4 separate regions of the Homo sapiens genome follow, and all the other regions are linked to region 3. The links are contacts of gene promoters, found by promoter capture Hi-C in blood cells and fetal thymus (Javierre and others, 2016). All regions are on one chromosome and are shown on one strand. The core of a region is centred on a gene start or on the middle of the fragment in contact, and the rest is flanking DNA. Distances in the headings are between cores, read along the strand shown.

What was found. Contacts are between HindIII fragments. The CHiCAGO score rates a contact against its expected background, and 5 or more counts as called.
Region 1: a contact is called between a fragment that was not itself captured here and the fragment with the promoter of COXFA4 in region 3, in 2 of 17 cell types (non-activated CD4 T cells and activated CD4 T cells). The highest score is 10.5, in non-activated CD4 T cells.
Region 2: a fragment that was not itself captured here is called in contact with the fragment with the promoter of COXFA4 in region 3 in 1 of 17 cell types (total CD8 T cells); the score reaches 5.6 in total CD8 T cells.
Region 4: a fragment that was not itself captured here is called in contact with the fragment with the promoter of COXFA4 in region 3 in 1 of 17 cell types (fetal thymus); the score reaches 6.3 in fetal thymus.

The regions. Positions count from the first base shown.
Region 1 is chr7:7,563,958-7,566,798 of GRCh38, reverse strand. MIOS-DT (MIOS divergent transcript) reads left to right here and starts at 734. Exons shown (of 5, transcript NR_110084.1): 1 at 734-885; 2 at 2,475-2,562. RefSeq lists a silencer at 1-94. The HindIII fragment of the contact is 1,676 bases long and covers 413-2,088 here.
Region 2 is chr7:7,640,837-7,643,704 of GRCh38, reverse strand. It overlaps RPA3 (replication protein A3), which reads left to right. Exons shown (of 8, transcript NM_002947.5): 5 at 2,530-2,868. The region is part of intron 1 of UMAD1 (UBAP1-MVB12-associated (UMA) domain containing 1); the gene reads right to left. Among named protein-coding and RNA genes, the nearest start is that of UMAD1, 1.5 kb to the right of the region's middle. RefSeq lists enhancers at 2,493-2,662, 2,743-2,792, 2,833-2,868. The HindIII fragment of the contact is 1,494 bases long and covers 864-2,357 here.
Region 3 is chr7:10,938,779-10,941,823 of GRCh38, reverse strand. It overlaps COXFA4 (cytochrome c oxidase associated subunit FA4), which reads left to right and starts at 1,671. Exons shown (of 4, transcript NM_002489.4): 1 at 1,671-1,808; 2 at 2,928-3,016. The coding sequence starts at 1,767. It overlaps LOC107986767 (a long non-coding RNA gene), which reads right to left and starts at 1,568. Exons shown (of 3, transcript XR_001745091.3): 1 at 1,093-1,568. RefSeq lists a silencer at 1,139-1,388 and enhancers at 614-1,534, 1,419-1,688. The HindIII fragment of the contact is 7,174 bases long and covers 1-3,045 here.
Region 4 is chr7:7,179,275-7,182,295 of GRCh38, reverse strand. It overlaps a transcript of C1GALT1 not described here. Among named protein-coding and RNA genes, the nearest start is that of C1GALT1, 1.8 kb to the left of the region's middle. RefSeq lists a silencer at 1-12. The HindIII fragment of the contact is 2,093 bases long and covers 281-2,373 here.

The sequences.
Region 1 (2,841 bases), core at 1-2,500, 3.4 Mb after region 3:
CGAAAGCGCCGGTGCACCCCGCAGGCCCTGCCCGTGGGTCCACAGGCCGGATCCCCGGGTTCCTAGGCTGGGACTGCTTCTCAGAACCACTCTGTCGTTTTTAAGCAGGGTCACACACTCTAGCTCACTGGGTCCATTTTAATTTCTATTAAACATTTTTTTTTTTTTGCAAATGATGTAGTAGGAGATCCAAGGTGTTTGGTTAATGATTTATTCACTCATTAGTCATTCCACAAACTTGTCTTGAGCACCTGTTATGTACCCAGCACTGTGCTGGAATGCTGAGGAGACAGGAGTGAAGTAAAAAGACATGGTTCCGGCAGGAAACAGGCAAGGAGAGCCTTGACTTGGTAGGGCTAACACAGTGCTACACAGGAGGGACGCCCGCTCGGTGTCGGGGGTCAGCAAAGCTTCCTTAAGGACCACTAGGTTGAGACAAGAAGGATGAGTATGGGATTAGCCAGGAAAGGGAAAAGGGCAGTGGGAACTGGAAGAGAAGAGCCTTCTAGGACTGGGAAAGAGCAAGTGCCGGGTCAGGAGAGAGGACATAGCAGTGAGGAGGCAGTAGGTATGGATGAATGAGCAGAGGAAGTGGGGAGAGATTAAGGTGCTTTCAGAAACGGGTTGGAAACCAGTTTAGTGAGTTTGGATGGCATTTACCTAAAGGCAATGTTAGAGTCATCGAAAGTTTTTAATCAGGCAAGTGGTATGATCAGTTTTTTGTTTTGTTTTGTTTTTTTTGAGACGGAGTCTGGCTATATCGCCAGGCTGGAATGCAATGGCGCGATCTCTCCTCACTGCAACCTCCGCCTCCCGGGTTCAAGCGATTCTCCTGCCTCAGCACCTCGAGTAGCTGGGACTACAGGCGCGCGCCACCACGCCCAGGTAATTTTTTGTATTTTTAGGAGAGATGGGGTTTCACCATGTTGGCGAGGGTGGTCTCATTTCTTGACCTCGTGATGCGCCCACCTCGGTCTCCCAAAGTGCTGGGATTACAGGCATGAGCCACTGTGCCCGGCCAGTATGATCAGTTTTTGCGCAGAGAGCTGGAGGGATAGAGTATCAGAATGAGGGATGATAGAAACGCAGGTTACCAGTGGCACGGAGAGTGGGCATGGAGAGAAGTGGGGGCCCTGGGGAATACTTAGAAGGCGGGATGAACAGAGCTTGGTGACTGACCAAGTGAATGACGGTGAAAGAGGATTCCAAGTTTTTTGTTCCCAAAACTGAGTGAATGGTGCTGCCTCAGGTGTCACGAGTCTGACCTCGAGGCAGTCTTCAGATGTCTGACAGTCTTTGCTTGTCTGTTCATGATTAAAAGTGGGTGGTCTTGGGCTTGTGGTGGTGATGGCTGTAAACAGCATAATGAGCTTAGTCCTGATGATCTTGGTGGCAGATGGTTTTGATAAGATGATGAGTTTGGGGAAAGTATTGCCTTTCCAATCCTGCCATTAGAAGAATGTAGGCTGAAGAAAGTGCTGTATTACTGAGAGGAGACATGACAGTATTCATCACTTCAAACACTATCTTGCCAATCTTCTCAGTGGTTTTGACCCTGGCCTCAAACCCCCACACAAAACCTCAGATCAATACAAATCTCTTCCTTATCCACTCCTACTATACATAGTTGAGGACAACTTTTCTGCTTGCACTCAGGAGATGACACTGCCTCCTACTTCAGAAAAGAAAATTAAAACTATTAGCTAGAATTTGCACAACCTCCCACTGCTTCCTCCTTCCCTCCTCCAACATCTTGATTCACTACCATTCTTACCTTCTTTTAGGTGACAAAGAGTAAGAGGAGGAACCCCATGTATATCTCCTCTTCTGGGACCTTGCACCATCAATTACTTCACTTCCATGTATCTTTGCCTCTCCATTTCTACTGGTTCTTTACTTTCAACACATACTCAAGTTATTCCCATTTTCTCTTCAAAGGAGAGGATCATATTTGCTCTCTGTAATTCCACTTCCCCCTCTCTCCCTTGAATTCACTCCATTCAGTCCTTCATGCCCACCATGCCACGAAACTGCCACTTGTCAAGGTCACCTGTGAGCTCCATGCTGCCAGTTTCAATGGCCAAAGCTTCACTCTTGCAACTTCTGTTGTTCTTGACTACTTCCTCTCTTGACATGTCTCATTCACTTTGTTGCATATCATCACTTTCTTCTGGTTTGTCTTTTATCCCTGTGACTTCACTGTTCCTTAAACATGACAAGCATGCTCTTGCCTCAGGGCTTCTTCACTAGCTATTCCCTCTGTCTGGAATGCAGAAATCTACATGACTCATACTCTCCCTTTACTCAAGACTGCTCACTTGTCACTGACTACCTATAAATTAGCTCCTTTGTTGTTGTCTTTATGACACCACAACTTCACATACGTCGCCATCTCTTTACTTTCCTATAGTTATCTTCTAGACTGTGTCTTCTCCTTATCTCCAGTTTTCATTCTGTATTTTTTTTCTTTTTAGTAAGAGGAAATAACTCTACATTCAAATTTGAGCAGGGCACTTGGTGACCTACTTAGACATGACATTCCTTGGCCTCCCTTTCAGCAAGGTAAGGCTATATCAAAAAGTTATGTCCTGTAAGATGTGAGTAGAACTGGATCATGTCCCTTAAAAGGAAAGCTGCTTGCTATACACTTTCTCTTCCCTCTTCTTGCTGTCTGGCAAATGGCAAAAAGAAATACAGACTGGAAATGGAAGCCATGTATTAAGGAAGGCAAAGCTGTTCTCACTAGCCTAAGTCCCAAACTAATCTCAGGGAGCTGGGGCACCTCCTCCCTTGGATCAACCACAGACTTCTGGACCATTATGCAAGAGAAAATAAACTTTG
Region 2 (2,868 bases), core at 361-2,860, 3.3 Mb after region 3:
AGTCTCGCTCTGTGGCCCAGGTTGGAGTGAAGTGGCGCGATCTCGGCTCACTGCAAGCTCCGCCTCTCGGGTTCACGCCATTCTCCTGCCTCAGCCTCCCGAGTAGCTGGGACTACAGGCCCCCGCCATCGCGCCTGGATACTTTTTTGTATATTTAGTAGAGACAGGGTTTCACCATGTTGACCAGGGTGGTCTTGAACTTCTGATCTGAGGTGATCCACCCGCTTCAGCCTCCCAAAGTGCTGGGATTACAGGCGTGAGCCACCGCGCCCGGCCCTGATCCTAGGACTTTTACAAGCTTGTCTATTTCCCATGATTCTTTCCTTAGGATAGGCTGCCGGCAGGCACAGAGCCCTCCTTAGCCTTGGGAAGTGTTTTTAGGGAGTTACATGCACGCCCATCTGAGGCTTCCTTCCTTTTTCCGGTGGAGTGTACCTGGAAGATCATACTTTACCATTTTTGTCTCTTAATATGCATGCCCAGGAAGCTGTTTCTCCCTCGGGTCTACATTCAATTAACATTTTGATAACAGGTGTGGACCATCAGGAAATGGCCTCTCCCTGGCGCTGCAGAATTATCATTTTTAGAGAAGCAAATTCGGTAATTGCCAAACCATCCCCCAACATTTCTAGTGGGTTGGGGGAGAGCCCACTACTGTCCCACTCATGCCTACCTGTAACAGAAAAAAAAATATGATCTACGTACATTCGTCAACATAGATGAATCTCAAAAACAAACAAAAGAAGTCAGAAGATACATACGTTTCTGTTTATATAAAGGTCAAAGACTGGCAATATTAAACAACATACCATTTAGCAACGCCTGCATGTGTGATAAAACCACCTAGAAAAGCTTAGGAAGCTTAACACAAATTTCAAGATAGTGTTTACTTATGGCTGTAGCAAGGAGGGCTTCATTGGGGAAGTGCAAACTGGTAAAATTTACTGGTAACTGGTAAAGTTCCATTTCTTCAGCTGAATGACAGGCCCCATGGATTCATTTCATTTCTCTCAAAACTATGCAAATCGGCTAGCTATACTTTTTTCTGTACATCATGTATTTTATAATATTTTAAGTGACTCAAAAATACACGAAAAAGCTGTTTTAAATTATCTTCCTGCTCATCTCCCTGTTTTAAAAGAAAGCCTTTGCTTAAAAGTGGTCTTTCTAACTGCAGGTAAACAACGACATTAACATCTGGTACTCACAGGAGTGCTCTTTAAAAAAAAAAAAAATCACTATTACAGGGTACGCACCAAGGCTCACACCTGTAATTCCAGTACTTTGGGAGGGAGACGGGGGAGGGAGGGATCGCCTGAGCCCAGGAGTTTGAGATAAGCCTGGTCAACATGGCGAGGCCCCATCTGAACAAAAAAAAACAAACAACAAAAAAAAAATCTTTATTAGCTGGGTGTGGTGGTATGTGCTTATAGTCCCAGCTACTTGGCAGGCTGAGGTGAGAGGATCGCTTAAGCCTACGAGTTAAAGGCTGCAGTGAGCTATGTGCATGCTACTGCACTCCAGTCTGGGTGACAGAGAGAGATCTTGCCTCAAAAAAAAATGCTATTAAAGACATTGATGTGTGTACTCTCCCCTATATAATGCACATCAACTTGCTTTGCAAAACAATGCTAAAGTACAAAAGACTTAAAGCTGTAATATAAAATAGACTTTACTGACTTGCACCAATACAACCACAACTTTTTTATACACCACTGACACACATTCTACATCTGTTTAATGAAATCCTTTAAAGTACCGTTAGTGAGTAAAACTAAGACAAACCTATTAAGTGCTAAGGAAACACTAAGGGAGACTATCATTTAATTATCGTACATGAGATTCCAATCTTAAATTGCCACGTGAAGTCTCAAATCGGATCTTTTTTGCTTAAGGGAATTTGAACGATGACAATTCTGTAGCTTTGGGCCAATTCACAGACTCAGTTTCCACAACGTTATAATACCCAATTAAAACTTCTGTCCAATTTCCACCGTACCGTTTGAAGGTATTTTTATGTGCACTCATTCTAGAATACTCCTGGCAAGGCCGCCGGCTTCGGGTCACAAGATGAGCCAGGGACAGATTGGAGACTACCCCCAAATCTCCCAGGAATCGGTTATCTTCCAGACCTCCAGATCGCCCTCCAGAGTCTCGCAGTGTGGAGGGCAACGACAGAAAGACTGCTGAGGGGGTTTAAACTGTTGAGTCAAACATATGGCCAAAAGTCAGAGTCAACTGGGACCTTGCAAATCATTCCGCCTAACCCTTCGTTTTGCAGATGGGGAAAACACGCCTCAGAAGGGAGAACCCTAGCTCGGGGAACCCTAGCTCGGGGTCTAACAACGATTTAAGCTTGTCTCCCCTAGTACTGGCCAGTGGTTCTTCCCCGTTACCCATCCTTAAGTGCTTCTATTGGCTGCCAACACGGAGGGGTTAGCGGGGTGAAAGAACCGGCGCCTCCGCAGTGTGGCCAGGTTGGGCTAAAAAACGTCTTAGAAGTAATCGGATCAATCTCTCTTCTTACAGGTGGAGAAAGTGGAGAAAGTAGAGTGACGCAGCTAAGGGAGTAAATCGACCCTCAGCCAACAAGTGGCAAAAGCCTGAAGAAAGTGATCAAGATCACTGATGACCCCGCTGCCCATCTCCAAGGGGGCGGGTATCACAACCCCGACGCCACACCACGTATCATTCCGCAAAACTCCCGCGCCTCCCACGCAGAACTGGCAAGAGGGAAGGCGAGACAGCAGTGAACAGCTGGTACGCAGCACCCACAGCACCGCGGCAGCAGCTAGTGCCGACTCCCGCCTAGCTCTTTTGACTCTGTTCGCGGGAAGAATGGGGAAACAGTAAGGTTGCGGCGCCTCC
Region 3 (3,045 bases), core at 422-2,921:
GTCTAAATTCTCAGTCAACTTTCTCTCCCTAAGTAATCTCATTCAGTCACATGGGTTCATTTCTTATCAGTAAACTGAGTCCTAAATTTATACTTATAGTGTAGTTCTCTTCTGCCCCATAGAGATCCACTTGAATTTTACATAGGCACTTATACATCATTCTCTACGGCTTATTTCAATAACTGGCATCAACAACCACAGAGCTGCTCAAAACTGAACCTCTGAAATTATTCTTAACTTCTCTCTCCTCACTCCTGGAGAGCCAACCACCAAGTCCTGTTGGTGCCACCTTCTAAACATCTCTGGAATCTTTTTTTCTCATCATTACATTCTCTACACTAGTTCAAGCTACCATTATCTGTCACACAGATTATGGACTATTGCAATGGCCCCTTGATAGGTCTTTCCCCTCTCACGCTTATCCCTTCTAATCAATTATTCACAAAGCAATCATTTAAAAACACAACCTTCCCAAGCTCTCAACATAAAACCCATGATGTTTAAGCGGTTATTGGCCCAGCAGATCTGATCCCCACCTTGCTCTCCCTTTTACTTTCCAGCCACACTAGACCTCATACAGCTCCCTCGGGTTTTCAATAGCTTCAGACCTTCACGTGTTATTACCTCCGCCCTGTACACCTGCATCCTCCGTTTTCACCTGGTTAATGTCCGCTCCTCCTTCAGAGCTAGTGTAACTTCCGGTGGAGCCTTCTCCTATGATTTCTAGTCCCAATTATTAATACTTGCTTGATCATTTGATTAATGCTTTAAGCTACGTATGAGATTGGAGAGGGTTCAGAGTGTACATTTTATCCCAATCCCCCCACCCTCCCCCGCAAAGCCTGTCCTATGGAAGTCCTTCGGGTAAAAAAAACAACGAAGAAAACAAAACAAAAGACAAATGAAAATTCGACTGGGGTAGTGGGAAAGATTATCTGTAGCTACACGACCATTGAAAACACATTTTAAAGATGCAATTTGGGACCAGGGACGGGGGATAGTGGCGTGTTGGAAAGGTCTTTGTGGCGACGAACTTTCAACCGAGGGCCAGGATCTGAGGGTTCAGAAATACACTGCCAGGACTATTATCACCTTTAAGTCATTTACTAGTTTTTAACTTCTGCTTGTCTGCGACAGCGTAACACAGGAAGCAGCTGCAGTCTTCTCAAACCGCAGCCGCTGACCTTAGCGGCAAGAGGCCCGACCTGCCCTCCAGGCGCCCGGCGCTCGGCTCCCAGAGGCGCCGCGCAGCTCCCTCAGCGGCAGTCACAGCTGGCCAGCGCGCACCCGGCACGCGCGCCCCCAGGGCCTCTGCGCGCGGACCCGGCTCTCAGGCGCCGCGGGAGAGGCCCCCTACTCACGGAGCGCGCGGCCCGTGCGCCCACGCTCCGACCGCATTCCTCAGTACGTGGCACCCTTGGAAAGTGCCTGTCTGGTCAATCGAAGAGTCCTCGTTTCGACCAAAAAAATTCCCCTCAGAAATATGCATGGCACGGCAATGAAGGCATTTCACTATGAAGTGGAATGATGATGGTCCGACCAGGTCAGGACGAACATATGAGGGGTTAGATCTAAGCAGGCACTATTAAAGACAGTCGCATCCGGGCCCTCCTGCCGCAAGCTGCCCTCCCAGCCAAGGGTCCTTCAGGTAGGAGGTCCTGGGTGACTTTGGAAGTCCGTAGTGTCTCATTGCAGATAATTTTTAGCTTAGGGCCTGGTGGCTAGGTCGGTTCTCTCCTTTCCAGTCGGAGACCTCTGCCGCAAACATGCTCCGCCAGATCATCGGTCAGGCCAAGAAGCATCCGAGCGTAAGTTCGTGACCGCTCTCCTAATGTTTTCCCTTGTCCTTCTTGCGTCGGGGTGCGCCTCTTTCTGTTCCCTGGGAACGTCCTCATTTACAGCCACTTACCGTCCGTCAGACCAGACCCTGCCTCGCCTAGTGTTTGTCATCTTAGTTGTCCCAGGCCTCTGTGACCCTCTACGCCATGCATTGTGGGGTTTTGTCTGACAGGAGGAAGGAGACGGACACTGCTCGGAAAAAAAACCTAGTTTTTTCTAGTTAGTGAATATTGGAACAGTCTGGTGGCCGCTCTCTTTTGCAGGTTGTGCGGTCCAGGAGGGATAGATGTGCGCTGTGTGGGTCAGAGACTAGCATAGGTCAGGTTCCCTATGTGTTATACCATCTCTGGAGGTTCTTGTATTCGCCGCATTGCACCACCAGGCCTTTTGGTAAATAAGAGGGGTCCGTGATCTTGGAATCCTCACTTTGTCTGGACGTCGTTGCTTTTGGGAAAATTTCGAAGTGTGGAAATTGCAGTTAAGTTCTTTGGCATCTCATTTTTCCTCAGCACATCAATGTGCTGTAGAGCTAAAAGTCTATGCAATCTTTAATCTGTCTTAAATCCGGTTCCCTAAATACGCAGCAAGCATTGGTAGCATTACGTTTTCAGAGATAATGCTTAAAGCCAGTATTTGTAATAGATACGTTTACTTATTCAGATTCTATTTTTCATACATCTTTATAGAGGCACCCTTAAATAATTTGCAAAGAATTTGTTTTTCAAGCCCCAGGATAAAGGAAGCCAGAAAATTTAATGGGAATGACATGTAAATATTAGAGAGGTGAAGAAGACTCGATACATTTTCTTGGAAATTTAAAAATGTACCTATAATTTGCTCCACATTAAAAAGTAAGACACTTAAACCAGAGTCATCTTAACATCCTTTCCAAATTCCATTTCTTTCTTTAGAACACAGTTATAAGAAATCTTACCTCAATGTAAGATCTACTTTATTTAAATTTTAAGACAAAACAGTCCAATAACAGTTTGAGACTTGGAAATCAATGTGCAGAAACTACTGTAATCTCTCGTTGGCCAGTGTTTTAAGTATTTGAAGATGGTTATTCTATTTTGTGTTTGGTTTAGTTGATCCCCCTCTTTGTATTTATTGGAACTGGAGCTACTGGAGCAACACTGTATCTCTTGCGTCTGGCATTGTTCAATCCAGATGTTTGGTAAGTACTTAAAAATGTTTAAAACTTTG
Region 4 (3,021 bases), core at 78-2,577, 3.8 Mb after region 3:
TTGAGCGGGACGAAAGCAGGGTAACAATAGGGAGCGAGAAAGGGGATGCTTGAAGGACCTTTGTCTGAGGTACAGGCTCTAACCCTGCAGGACTCTTGTGGCCTGTAGCCTGCTCTTAACCCGTTCATTTGTTTTTCTGTTCTCTCCCCGTGCTCTCTTTACTCAGTATCTCTCTGGGCTTAATAAAAGGAAGTAATAAGATGAAGTATGCATACGGGTGCTGGGTCATCATGTGAGAACCAGGAAGAGCTGAGAACCGAGATAATGATACCAGAAAGCTTTCTATAGGCACATTTCGTCTTTGGTTCTGTCAGCACTTCGGTTCTGTGGGGCAATGGCCGGAAGAGCTTCTTAGGGGCGTAACAAAACCTATCTCCCCTTTCGCTGGGCTCTGAATAAGGAAGTTGTCTTTGGAATAGGGGGAGGAGGCTGCCACCTGTTGAGGCAACCCCACAATAGTCATGAGGTGAGGGTAAGGTTTAGTCTTTACTGGCGTTAACCATTATCTACAAGACCACGTTCCAGAATAGGAAAGCTACCCTGCTTCCTTTAAATGCCCTATCCAAGCGGTTCTTTAGTACTCTACAGCATGGTTGTTAAAGAGTATGGGCTCTGAAATCAGACTGCCCGGGCTGGCATCTTGGTCCCTCCACCTATTGGCAAGTTACTTAGAATGCCTGAGACAAATAATAATATACATTAGTTATTGTTATTTTTCCTTTAATTTGCTTAGGTTCAGCTGTAGTGTAGTTTCTCAGGACATTGCATCAATATATCCAAAAGAATTGTGAAACATAAAGCACATGTAGTGATTCTAATACAGATGTCTCATTTTTCAGATGACAAAACTAAGGCCAGAAAGATAAACTGATAGGTCCATGTTAGAAGAGAAGTGCAGCTATCCTGATGTCCAGGTTATTGCTCTTTCCTTGGCTCATGGGTCCAGACTTCTCTGCCTTACATGATTACGTCCATTCTCTACTCCTCCCCAACTTGTATACAGTTGTTGCTCAGCCTCCTCCCCCTCCACCTTTCCGCAATATCCTTCCACCTTTCCGCAATATCCTTCCACCTTTCCGCAACATCCTTCCACCTTTCCGCAATGTCTTGCCATCCATTGTGAAACATGGAAGGAGAACTCTTTCAGGGGTCAGTGTTCCAAATAGAAACCAAAACTCACAACTCCTTATCTCGTTTTAATTTTATTAAAAGTTATAATTAATAAAGAATAACACTTTTTTCCATTGAGCAAAGATTAGAACCCTTTCCTAAAATAAGGTCAGCCACAGCCTTATCCTGGAAAATTACTTGCTAGAAACAATACTGGACCAAATCAGCCCTGCCCCCACCCTGCCTTTCTTTGAAAATAGCTTTTTTTTTTTTTTGAAGAGATATGGTCTTTCTATGTTGCCCAGGCTGGAATGCAGTGGCTATTCACAGGTGTGATCTTGGCACACAACAGCCTCGAATAACTGGGCTGAAGGCTGAAGCAATCTTCCCGCCTTAGCCTCCCCAGTAGTTGGGATTACAGGCACAGGCTGTGGCACCCAGCTAATAACTATTGTTTTATAAAAACAATACATGCTTATGCAAACAAATTTAAAAAATTTAAACAAAAATGCAAAGAAGTTAAAATCTGTCCAAATACCATAATATAGAGATAACCATTTCTTAAATTTTGTGTTACATTCTTCTAGGCATCTCTCTAAGAATAAAAGCACATATAGACATATAAATACAATATTTCATAAATTGGATCGTATTATCTGCACAGTGAACAACAGTCATGAATAACATCATTTTTAAAAGTTGCATACTGTCTGTTAAATGGATATACCATCATTTATCCAACCAGTATTCTATTGATTGACATTTATGTTTCCAAGTTTTTACTACCATAAAAAAAGTCTCTGATGAACATTCTTATCCATAGGCTTTTGCACAATTGTGCAATTATCTCCTTGAACACATTCCTAGAAGTGACATTAATGTCAGCCAATTCTTCGACATTTTCAATTAGAGAATAAAAATTGTGGTTACTTTGAAAAATATACTTTATATGTGGGACTCAAAACTGACCAGATTCTCCCATTTGAAACATACTTGAAACACACATAAACCTCAGTATTGTTGTTTCTCTTGTGTCTAGTGTTTAATAATGCATGTCAAAACTCGTTGGAGTAGGTCGGTAGACATTACTAGTTGTCTAAACCAAAATCCTTTCTTCTTTACTAGTAGAACTCTGATTTCTTCAGGGTGACAATGTGGCCAGTTAAAAATATTCATGCCCCTAGACTTTCATAAGTCATGGCTGGCCATGTGACCATCAATTAAATAAAAGTGAATTTCTGTAGAGGAGACTCAAGGAAAGCTTTATGGAAGAAATATCGCTTTAGCCATTTGATATGCACCCATCCCTTTTTTTTTTTTTTTTTTGAACCTGAAACAGGGACATGATACTGGAGGTAGAACAGCCATATTTCACCCATAATAACAAAAGCCACACAGACACTATTAATAGTGTAGGACACCAGAGGTGCCTAGGTCCATGGTTGCTTTGGAGGGCCAACTTACCAGGTCTGGACTATCCACTTCTGGATTTGTTGTTAGGTGAGGAAGATTATATCCCTTCTATATAAGATTTTGTTATTGTCTGTTGTAAGTATCAAATGCAATTCTTAGTTGACATAATAAGATAGGCCAAGTCATCATTTATTTAGCACTATATATAGAATTTTTTAATAGACAGAATGAGGTGAAAATGGTGACAGAAAATGCAAACAAGCTAGCAACAACATTAAAACATTGTCTTCTTTAATAGACTTAGTTTCCCTTTAAATACCTACATTTTACAAATATATTAACACCAGTTTATAATAATTAAGTTAAATTTCGTGTATTAAATTTTATTAACTCATATGGTAGTATTAAAATATGTTCACAAATTATTTGATACTTCTTCCTTCAAAGGGTCAAACTTCATTCCCCTCACCTTGAGTTTGGACTGTATTAAATGACTTG